4 separate regions of the Homo sapiens genome follow, and all the other regions are linked to region 3. The links are contacts of gene promoters, found by promoter capture Hi-C in blood cells and fetal thymus (Javierre and others, 2016). All regions are on one chromosome and are shown on one strand. Each heading gives the region's core, a stretch centred on a gene start or on the middle of the fragment in contact. The rest is flanking DNA. Distances are from core to core; before and after follow the strand shown. Region 1 overlaps LOC124900936 (a long non-coding RNA gene). Region 2 has its middle 61 kb from the start of MTRR. Region 3 holds the start of SEMA5A (semaphorin 5A). Region 4 has its middle 77 kb from the start of MTRR.

Region 1 (2,700 bases), core at 180-2,679, 1.6 Mb before region 3:
CTCTGATAAGTTTCTGAATTGCTTTTCTGTGTTATCCTGAATATCACTGAGTTTCCTTAAAACTGCCATTTTGAATTCTTGGTCAGAGAGTTCACATATCACCATTTCATTAGGGTCAGTTGCCAGTTCCTTGCTTTGTCCATTTAGGAGAGATCATGGTTCTCTGCTATTGTTTCTGTTGGATGTACATCTGTGTCTTTTCATTGAAGAATTAGTTATTTATTCTAGTCTTCTCTGACATTTTTGTTTTTTATTGGATATGTTTTCTTAGAGATCCTTTATAATTTACCTTTTGATATTTTTTCTTTTTTTCCCCTACTAGGTTGCTGCTCCCTTTTCAGCAGTAGATGACACCTTAAGACCAAGTTTGCCTTGGTTCTAGTAAGCAATCAGAGTACCACCTATCTCAAATCAGAAGGTTTCAAAGGGGATATCCCAGTAGTATGAGAAGGCTGGGGGTTCATGCCCAGAGGACCTGTGAAACAAACCTCTTACAGCATCATGCTACTGAAGAGCCACTCTGATTTAGTGTTTTAGTTGGCCAAATTACAGAGCAAAATTTTCAGGCCTAGGGATGGTAGTTCCACCTTCCCTCTTTGTCTCTGGCTGTTCTCAGGGATATTTCTCCCTTCAGACACTACTGATAGTTTCTGTGGGCAAAAGGGAAAGGTCTCCTACTAGGGTGCCCTGAATGGTGGGGAAGCTGATTGTCCACCTTGATGTCACTTTTTTCAGTGTAGAGACTGTATGTTGAGGGAAAATTTTCCACATGCTTTGTGATGGGCAGATTGGGTGGAGGGGCATTATGAATATGGAAGTCTGATTCCCTTACTGTCTGCTTAAAATTTGTTCAATTCTCTGTGATTCCAGGAACTGTCTCATTCTCATCTGAGTCCTGGAATACTACTGGTGATAATCTTGGCACTGTGTATTTGTTTCTGGGTTTCTGTGGGGAGGAGGTAATGAGGCCAACTTGTTTCTACACCACCATTTTGGAATGGGAAGCTTTCATTTAAGTTGTAATACTTATTTTACTTTTTATTTTTAACTGGAATGATATATACATAGATGAGGTTCAGTAAAACTTTTTTTTAACTGACTGTAAACATTTTTACTGACCGTGTTTTACTGACTGTGCTTTTTAATGACTGTGAACATTTTTACTGTGTTTATTTTCCACCATCATTAATATATGTTTCATTACATAATTACTACTGAAAAGAATTTTGTCACATAAGGGATGTGATAAACCATTATCTGCTTGGGTTTCAAATGTGTTATGGATAACACTGCTGAACCAAAGCATAACTTTTGAAAGAGGAAGTACATGGGATCATCATAATAAATAATACAGTGTCCTGAGTGATGAGCTTTCTATTATGCTACAGGAAGAATTTCATTAAAAATAATAATAGAAAAACATTTAAAAATTTTACCATTTTATTAACATTCTATATTTTTCTACTCCGTTAAAATGCAGAAGTCAGAAAATGGAACATTTCCCTTTCACTATTTCTGCCATTAAAAAAATAGTACATTTTCTTGATTGTTTGTCATCTTAAACTACCTTTATCCTTTTGCAAGGTAGACTCTTCAGTATCTTTTTTAATCACAACAGATTAGAATATATACGATGGTACTTCGGAATATATGAATTACATTTTAATTTCTGAATGTTTATCTTATTTAATGTCAAATATATATATGTGTGTGTGTGTGGGTGTGTATGTATAGTACTTGTATGGCTTAAGGCTTCAAATGCTACTCAAAATAGTATCCACACTAAATCATTTTCTCTGAAAACACTCCTTCCTGTGTTTTGAGCTGGGCTCTGGGTAAACAAAAAAAGGAGTAAAGCTTAATAATGTTTCCTGTATCTCCAGTCTGCTGGCCTTCTCGTTCAACCAAGAACTTTGATTTGCAGATTTGGTGTTAACAGCCTTTGTAACATTGTCCTCGTTTTGAGGAAATTATTAAATCTTTATCAACCTTTGTAATTGGGTAGGCATGTTAACCTAAATGGATAGGAATTTTGATAGTGGCTCATTAGTTTATTTAATAAAAGTGTTTAAAGCTATATCTGACACAAAATAAGTATTTAAAATGTATGAGTATTTATGCTACTGTTACTGCTATTACTATTACTACTATCACTTCTACAAATGTTCCTGGAGAAACACCAGGTTGATGGGTGTGCTCTGAATTTTGGAGAAGGATTTAATGTACAACAAGGTCATTTTGATGTGTTTTTAGTTCTCCTGGCAAGTGCCCAGCTCATCACATGGTTCCAGAGCAGACATCTGTCTCCATGGTCCTTTATTCAGTAGCAGTTAACTCAGCACCTTTCACAGCTTTAATTCATTTTCTAAAGGTTAACAGGCAAAGAACAGGTTCAGAAAAGGTCTAAATCATGTTTTTATTTTTCCAGGTGGATGACTTTAACAAAAGATCATGACTCCATTGTGTATAAGAGCAGTTAAATTCTGCCTTTGTTTCAGAACATATCTGTAGGTTATTAAGTTTTTCTTTTGCTTCAGTATTTTCAAGGGGAAGTGAGAAAGTTGTAATTTCTTTGTAAGAAGTTTCTCTGTAAAATATGTGAGCTACTGTCACAAGACCCAGTACAGCTGAGGGACTTAGCCGCTGTATCAGTCTGTTTTCACGCTGCTGATAAAGGCATACCCCAGACTGGGCAATTTA
Region 2 (2,737 bases), core at 9-2,508, 1.6 Mb before region 3:
AGTGTTGTGAGGATTTCATGAGGTAATTTCTATAAAACGCCTTCAACAGTGCATGACACTTAAGTGCTCATGAAATTGGGGTCTTGTTTGAGGGATTTCATGTGGTGGTTATAGCTGGAGGCTTGAAACAGGACGCCCTACAGCCATTTCTTACCAAAGTGGCGCCAGGTGAGGTACTTGGCCTCCTGTGTCTCAGTGTCTTCATCTTTCACACGGATGAAAGGCTGTGTATTTCCATCTTGCTGTAGGGTTTAAATGGGTGAACGTGCTCAGCAAAGGGTAGCTGGTAGTCTTACTTGTGCCTCCACACAAGGCTGCAAGGGAACCTGAAGAGACATGAAAGGCTGCGTTCAACCTCCCCTCTCACAGCTGTGGATGAAGGGAATTCTTCTGAACTAGGTAAACCAAACATGATTTTTTCATTCATTTGTTGATTGCCCTTAAAATCCTTAGGGAGTGTTGTGATTTCCCCTCTGTTGTACCCACGTCATCTCCCTTTGTAATTAAAGTTTCTTCCTACTAGTTTGCCTGTACTCCCGGGGCCTCTGGTTGAACTGGGGTCAAGAATCCATCAGCTCCTCACATGAGTCAGGTGAAAGTCCTGAAGTGAAGCATCGTGAATTACTCACACAGCCCTCACGGCCCCTCAGAACTGGGCTCCCATAGGTGAGGAGGAGAAAGAGCAACTCGTTTTACAAGGAGCTCCCACATTCTCCTGTATAAAGAGGTCTTGAGAACTTTCCAAGTGAACTTCCAGGACAAAAGAAATGGGTTTGGCTACATGTGATTCCAACATCAGTGCTGGGTGGTCACTCCAGGAATCTGGATGGTCATTTAGCTGGTGCTAAGTTCTCTCTTGGGATGTGGAGCCTTTTGAATTAATCAGAAGTCTTGCTGCCACGTGAGCAGACTCTAGTGGCACTGACCTGTCCCCTGATCATTCGTAAATCTCTCAGACCCCTCCATCACATGGCTGGCCTATGCCAACCGTCTTCATCATTCTCCAGTCATCCCAATACTTACCCTCCACCTGTGAGAGTGTAACGATTTGAAATTTCAGCTTACTTTAACATCATGAATGAGGAAGATTATATCCAGAAATAGGTACAATAGTCACTTTTCAAACAAACTGCACATGGAACAAATGAATAGTAATTCAGACATTTGGAATATGAGGAATTTAGCTGAAGAAGGTCTTTCAGGAACTCTTATGAATGTACCTTTCTGTGATAATCAGAAATCTACTTATATGTCTACAGAACTCCACGGGGTAATACTTGGTAACATTCTAAGTGTCTCTTCATTGGAAATGAAGCATTTGCTGAGTTTCTTGAGTTTGCTGTTACAATAAATAATGCTTAGCTTCTCTTGAAAATATTGTGGCAAAAGCAGAAAAATAGACTGGAAGACATAGAAAAATATTTGCCAATTCAGTTACTAGATGATAAGTTCTTATTGAAGTGAATAATCTGTGGTAAAACACCATGAAAAAGCACATTTTAGCATCACAGGACTTTTGGAGAGAAGTTGAGTCGTAATGTAATAGTCTCTCAAAGTCTACTTATTGAGTATTTTTTTAAACATTTTTTTCCTGGAGTTTAATAATAAAACGATTCTAGGGGAAAGAAGCAAATACTTCAAGCCACATCACAGAAACACCTCTTCTAATGTCTGCTTTCTGGGTCTCGATCATTCTGATGAATTCCAGTGAATTCCAAGAGCTTTTATATTTTTCATCTCTCATAATTTCCCATTGCCCTAAGTATATGCTCAGTGCCTCCCCACGTTTCCGAGGCTTCAGAGGTGAAGAGTGATATATTGCAAGCACACTTCAAGCCATGAGTGCCCATCCTTGCCAAAAATCACATCCTTTAAATGCAACAAGAATTACATATGGCCGAGTGACAATTCAGTCTATAATACAGGAGCACAGCTGGGGGAGCCATGGGAAGCACTGCAGGTCACAGCGTGAAGTTGATGATTGTGTTTCGCCAGTTTCCTCTAAGAAGTGGATTGTTTTCTTGAGCTTTTTTTTTTTTCTTAAGTAATAGTCTTATACTTTTGGAATAGTCTTATTTTTATTTGAAAAAGTCTTTAGGAACAAGACATCTTCTCACTTTTGATTGAGAATATTCAAGATGTTTAATTCGAGGTAACAGGCATTTAGTCTGAGAATCCATTCCCCTCATCCCCGCCCCAGGAGTGCCTGGGTTCGTGGCATTTGATAAAATGAAGAAAATAAATGTGACCACACAGATATTCACCATGGATCTCCCATGTTCCTCTGTCTGAATAACACTATGGAATTCTTGGAAGCAGCTTGTGTGTTTTAATCTTGGAAGCTCAGGAATTCCACCTGGTCTGCACCTGCAGAAGCTACAGTAGGCACCCCACCTTGCTGCTGATGCAGTTTCTGTGCCATTGCTGGTGGAGGCAGCGGAGCAGAGGCGCAGGCACAATGAAGCGGGGACGTGTTCTGCAGATTGCTGCTAAACTCGCCTTATTCTGACTTTTGGATTTCATGACATTCCAGGGAGCTACCTGCCATGCTGTTGGCCTGGAAGCCCACCTGACTGGTCCATAGTGACGTCCTGAAGAGCCAGTCTGTAAAATAACCAACAACTTGTTTAGCTTTTGGATAGACTCCACACCTCCTCTTTCTCTGCAAAGAAAAATCTTGAATATTTATGGATGACAATTAGGGAAAGTATTGAAAATAGTGAAATATAATTAAAAA
Region 3 (2,700 bases), core at 111-2,610:
CCTGGTACAAAGCAAGCAAAGGGCGAGGAGGTGAACGCGCTTCCCGCCAAAGCCAGGGGAACAGGGATGTGACCGCTCCAAGCCAGGCACCGGCCGCCGCGGGGAGCGAGCCGGGGGAATCACTCCTCCACGACCGTTCCCACGCACATCTTGGGAGAAACCATTCCCTCTGGAGCCCGATCTGCCCGAAACCCTGGGGTCTGAAACCCTGAGCCGCGGTGTGCAAAATCCGTGGAGCAGCGGAGGGATGCCTGGTGAAAGGGGCTCGCCTAGCTGCAGCGCACCTGGCTGGTGGTTCCCCAGGCCTCTGCATCCCCCGCCTTAGTGTCTTTCATTAACCAAGGCGCTTGGCGGAGTTGAGCCCAAGTCCCATTGCCTCCCGGTTCCCCTGTAAGGAAAGCAGGAAAACCTGCCCAAGCCGGTGGGGCTGCGAGGTGGCCGCTCCCGAACCGCCAAGTCCCGACCTCCGTGTCCCCTGCCCCCGGCTCGCGGCAGTGCGAGCCTGGAGGCGCGCCGGGGGCGGGCACAGACCAGTGTGCGCACCTTTCCGGGTGTTGGGCAGGGGTCCCGTCTCGCCCACCGCGACACTCCGGCTCCTTACCTCTCCATGCTCAGACCTCGGCACAGGCGGGTACACAAACTTCCAGCCCGTGCACTAGCTCAACTGTGGGCGCCCCCGGACTGACGGTCGTCCTAATCCTGTACGCGCAACCCCCGCCCAGGTGCCTGCTGATGGATCCCACCCGAGATCGGCACCACCCACCAGCCGACCGCTGCAGTCCCCGGGTCCCGGCCAGCGGCGCGGCGCGGCGCGGCGCGGTCAGGGGCTCCTGCCAAGGCCACGCAGGAATCGGGCGGGGGTCGCTCACCAGGTGCGAGGAGCGCTGGTGCCAGTCATCCAGCGCCTGGGGGCCAGAGCGGCTCCGAGGATCCTCTTCAGCACCTGGCTAGGGAAGTGGAGGCAGCAGCTGCAGCCGCCCCCTGCCACTTCCCCAGAGCCGCCCCCTACTCGCTGAGTTCCAGAATGGGGGCACCGGCTTGGGGGCCACGAGCACGGTCCCCGAGCGCGCGGCCAACCGGTGGGTGGGCAGGTTCGCGCCCAGCAGAGACGACCCTCGAGGTGGCAAAGTTGGGTGTCCAAGCCAGCTCCGCGGGGCAGTCCTGGGTGGGAGAAGGGAGCGTCCCGGGATGAGCGACACTGGCCGGGCCGCCCCTGCACGGGGAAGGTGGAGGGCCGGGGCTGCAGCGGGCCAAGGGCCGCGGCTGGCCTGAGGCTGCGAAGCCCACCCGCGGCGGGAAAGCAGCGCTCGGGAGCGGGCTCAGGGAGAGCAGCCGCCACCGGCGCCGCCTTCCCGGCAAGTAGATCGGCGCGGGGCGAGCGGGCGCGGAGAGCGCGGGGCGGAGAGCGCTGGGCGGGGAGCGGGGGACAGCCTGGGCCCACCCCCGCCCCGCCCCGCCCCTGCCCCGCCCCCGCCGCCGCGCCGCCTCCTCCTCCTCCTCCTCCCCGCCGGGGTGAAACTCGAGCGCCCCACCCGCGCCTGACCTCCCCGAGCCCCTCCCCGGGCCCCGCCCCTTCCCGGTACAGGACCCCCACCTTCGCTCCTGGGAGCCCCGCTGCACCCCAGGAGTTCCATTCCAGCCTCCCCAGTGCGAGTGCGGCCGAGCGCTGACTTTTGGGGGCTCCCTCCCCCGTCTCACTGGGTCCCTCTGCGGCTCCCCCGCCCGCTGTCCCGGTTCAGACGTGGCTGCACCCCGGAGGGGGGCGCCGGCCGAGACCTGAGACGTGGCGCTCCCTCTCTGCCGGCCTCGGCTTCAGGTACGTGCGGTTCCCTCGGCTAAATCTGGCCCGGGGGATGGGGGGCAGGGGCCGTCTGGTCCTCCGGAACTCGAACTTTGTGATTTTGTTCTTTCTGTGTGACATCCTCATCCGTTCTGAGGGAGAAACTCCTTAAAGAAGACGAGAGAGTCAGTCGTTGCGGGTTCTTGGAGGAGCACTTTGGGGGTGAGACTCCCGGCTAGTTCGGGTCGATTTCAGCGGGATTAAGTCAAGGAAATGAACAAATCTGACGAATCAGGGAGGCCAGAGAAGGCGTCCCCAGGTAGCCACGCTGAGCGTTAAGAGAGAAGTCCCGTATGGTCAAAGTCATTCGTCCAATTCTGTGTCAATTATTCCTTGTTGCACTTTTGCAGGATCCTTGGGCCTTACTAAGTACTCAGGTGAAAAGTTGATAATTGGGAAGCAAGTAAAGTACCTTTGAAGACGTGTATAATTGGACACTTTGTTGCAGTTCTTCAGTTTCTGGAGGAGGCGGTGGGGGGGGAGAGGGAGGGGGTCAGCCTCGCGAAAAGAGCAAATGGTAAAGTTATAGGAGTATAAGGCATAAAACTTGGGTTGGGAGTCCTGACTGGCCTTGAGTGGCCCTTTCCCACTGGATGGGGGTGCGGGACAGTATCTCTGGGCCCTTTTTACTCAGTCTGCGCCTCAGAGGGAGGCTTGAAGGTCCCCTGCATGAGGAAATGTGTGAATTGCCCCCTCCTGACCGCAGTGAGGTAGGGACCCCCGCAAGGACCCACGTTCACACCAGCGCCCTTCCAGCCAGTGGTGGGGTATGGATGGGCCTCGCTGGTCCTGGGCATGGTCCGGTGCGTCCATAAGGGTTCCATTGAGCTCATCCATAAAACAAAGAAGCTATTGCAGGC
Region 4 (2,819 bases), core at 101-2,600, 1.6 Mb before region 3:
CAGTGCTTAGAAAATAACCAACTGTCCTGTTTATCTTAAAACTCATCACTATTAACTTTACAGTTTAGTCAGGTTATTTCATTTCAGGAACTACAGTTTGCCAGTGTAGTAAAATTAAATTGGGACCCAGGTAACAACAAATCCTACTGTTGGGCTGTGTAAGAATTTGGGGAGCTTTTGAAGGTCATCCTTTGTGACAAACTATCAAAGTCATTTGGAAACAACAATGAGATATTACCCAACTCAGGTGGAGATAGAATTTTGCTCACTTTGGCAAGGATAATTCTGCCAACAGAAATAAAAGATTAGATGCTTGGAAACAACGGAGAGGAAGGGGTTGAGGGAAAAATCCAGGGCATGTCTGAATCGTCTGAATCCTGCGTTCACCTTGTCAGACCTGGACACCAATGTCTACAAAAATTTGACAGCCTAAAGTGGAAAACCAAGTGAATATGTCTAACTTTCAAATGGATGCATTAGAAAGAAGGTTGCCAACTTTTGTCTCTTTGGGAGAAGATTATTGTATCCACTAAATCACCTTTGGTTTACCTTTTTGGTTTACCTTTGGGTTTACCTTTTTATGATAAGATGGGTTTTGAAACACTTTCCCATAAGAAAGCTGGTCTATATTGCTTTTTTTTTTTTTTTTGGATAGAGTTTCCCTCTTGTTGCCCAGGCTGGAGTACAATGGCATGACCTAGATTCACTGCAGCCTCCGCCTCCCGGGTTCAAGAGATTCTCCTGCCTCAGGCTCCAGAGTAGCTGGGATTACAGGCACCCGCCACCATGCCTGGCTAATTTTTTGTGTTTTTAGTAGAGACAGGGTTTCATCATGTTGGCCAGGCTGTTCTTGAACTCCTGACCTCAGGCAATCCACCTGCCTCAGCCTCCCAAAGTGCTGGGATTACAGGTGTGAGCCACCACACCCAGCCTACATTGCTTTTATAATATCATCTCCAAAGTACTGCCGTCAGCATGCCCCACATCCAAGCTTTCCAATTCCCTGCAGCCCACTCTAGTAACACTCAAAGAATAGCTCTAAGGAAATAAAAACTACAGAAAAAGTCGTGATAGCCAACACTTTAACATAAAAAATGCCTAAAACCTTTTAAACTAAATTGTTTCTTAAAACAGAAGATTTTGCTAATTAGAATTAAGGCAGACTGTACTGAGATTATGTCAAGGAAAGCATTTTTGTCTGTGTTTAATTTACTACAGTTGTATTTAATTACACAGTTAAGAAGAGTAAGGAAAGTCTCAGGAGGGTGATCTTCGAGTACTCAACACCTAGGCATAAGAAACTTTGGAGTTTCCTGTATATTCTGTTTTTCAGACACACAAGGTCTCAACCTTTGCTATAAAGAGATACTACATTTATTTTGAATACTGAGAAAAATGACATTCTTCAGTAAATGCACATGGCAACTCATGTATAGAAACAAGCTCCTTGTTCAATGGACCTTCCAGTAACCATGGCAGCCACGAGTCTCTGGGATCATTTCCCTTAGATGCTGCCATGAGAATTCCAGTCTGTGGAAGATGGCACTAACATGGAATGCCTTCCTCCTCAACCTCTCAGCAATGTACACATGCCAACTACAGAAAAATGCTGAATAAGTTATAGTAAATGTAAAATAAAAGTGCATAGCTGAGATTGCAATAAAGAAAAATAAAACCACAGGTACCTAAAATGAGTGGGGATTTCCATCCAAAGCTTGAGTGGGTATTGAGCATGTTGAACATGAGAGTGGAACACCTCTGTGGAGACATCAGAAGCAAAGATTGTCTTGAGTACTAGATATTCAGTGTTCCTACAAGGACAGTTATTTTCTTGAGTTTGGTGGGAAGAGACTAGAATTAAACCTGTTTATGTAAGGCCAGAATATAAGGACTAAAAAACATCTGTTCACTGTCTTTTTTTTTTTTTTTTTTTTTTTTGAGATGGAGTCCCACTTTGTTGCCCAGGCTGGAGTGCAGTGGCACCATCTCGGCTCACTGCAACTGCCGCCTCCTGGGTTCAAGCAATTCTCGTTCCTCAGCCTCCTGAGTAGCTGGGACTATAGGCATGGCCACCAGGTCCAGCTCATTTTTATATTTTTAGTAGAGATGGGGTTTTGCCATGTTGGCCAGGCTGGTCTCAAACTCCTGACCTCAAGTGATCCGCCCGCCTTGGTCTCCCAAAGTGCTGGGATTACAGGTGTGAGCTGCCATGCCCAGCCTCTGCTCACTCTTTCGGGTTCTATTTCCCATGTGGCAGAACCTCCTGCCTTAGTATGCATGGGCTTGGGGTTCTTAATTTATCCTACATGAAATGAAGAACTCGATCTAGAGAAGAGACTAGAAAAAGAATGAACAGAACAGAACTAGAAAAAGAATGAACATAGATGGCTTGCATGAAGTGATTATATTTAATTGCAGTCTCAGAGGGGAGATAAAATGAGGGGAATAGTTGAAGAAATAAATGGCCAAAAATTCCCCAAATTTAGTGTAAATGATAAACCTACAGATCCCAGAAAGTCAACAAAATCCAAGCAGAAGAAAATGAGAGAAATCACACTAAGGGGCATCGTAATCACATTTCTAAAAAGTGATGATAAAGAGAATATCTTACAGCAGCTAGAGAAACAAACATACAAACACATTTTACACAGAGAAACAAAGATAAAATTACAGCAGACTCCTTTTCAGAAACTATGTAAAGCAGAAGAATATGGAAAAAATATTTTTGAAGCAGCTAAAAGAAAAAATAATCTGTCAGAGTAGAAGTCTAATTTTAGTAAAAATGTCTTTAAGTAGGGTAAAATAAAGCCTTTAAAAAA

What was found. Contacts are between HindIII fragments. The CHiCAGO score rates a contact against its expected background, and 5 or more counts as called.
Region 1: a contact is called between a fragment that was not itself captured here and the fragment with the promoter of SEMA5A in region 3, in 2 of 17 cell types (endothelial precursors and M0 macrophages). The highest score is 6.3, in endothelial precursors.
Region 2: a fragment that was not itself captured here is called in contact with the fragment with the promoter of SEMA5A in region 3 in 2 of 17 cell types (M2 macrophages and M1 macrophages); the score reaches 6.4 in M2 macrophages.
Region 4: a fragment that was not itself captured here is called in contact with the fragment with the promoter of SEMA5A in region 3 in 1 of 17 cell types (M2 macrophages); the score reaches 5.1 in M2 macrophages.

Annotation. Positions count from the first base shown.
Region 1 is chr5:7,908,623-7,911,322 of GRCh38, forward strand. LOC124900936 (a long non-coding RNA gene) reads left to right here. Exons shown (of 2, transcript XR_007058683.1): 2 at 1-2,077. Among named protein-coding and RNA genes, the nearest start is that of MTRR, 41 kb to the left of the region's middle. The HindIII fragment of the contact is 852 bases long and covers 1,004-1,855 here.
Region 2 is chr5:7,928,288-7,931,024 of GRCh38, forward strand. No RefSeq gene overlaps it. Among named protein-coding and RNA genes, the nearest start is that of MTRR, 61 kb to the left of the region's middle. RefSeq lists an enhancer at 53-1,252. The HindIII fragment of the contact is 9,391 bases long and covers 1-2,737 here.
Region 3 is chr5:9,544,715-9,547,414 of GRCh38, forward strand. It overlaps SEMA5A (semaphorin 5A), which reads right to left and starts at 1,361. Exons shown (of 23, transcript NM_003966.3): 1 at 870-1,361. SNHG18 (small nucleolar RNA host gene 18) reads left to right here and starts at 1,486. Exons shown (of 3, transcript NR_045196.2): 1 at 1,486-1,816. RefSeq lists a silencer at 1,295-1,484. The HindIII fragment of the contact is 4,033 bases long and covers 1-2,700 here.
Region 4 is chr5:7,944,374-7,947,192 of GRCh38, forward strand. No RefSeq gene overlaps it. Among named protein-coding and RNA genes, the nearest start is that of MTRR, 77 kb to the left of the region's middle. The HindIII fragment of the contact is 723 bases long and covers 990-1,712 here.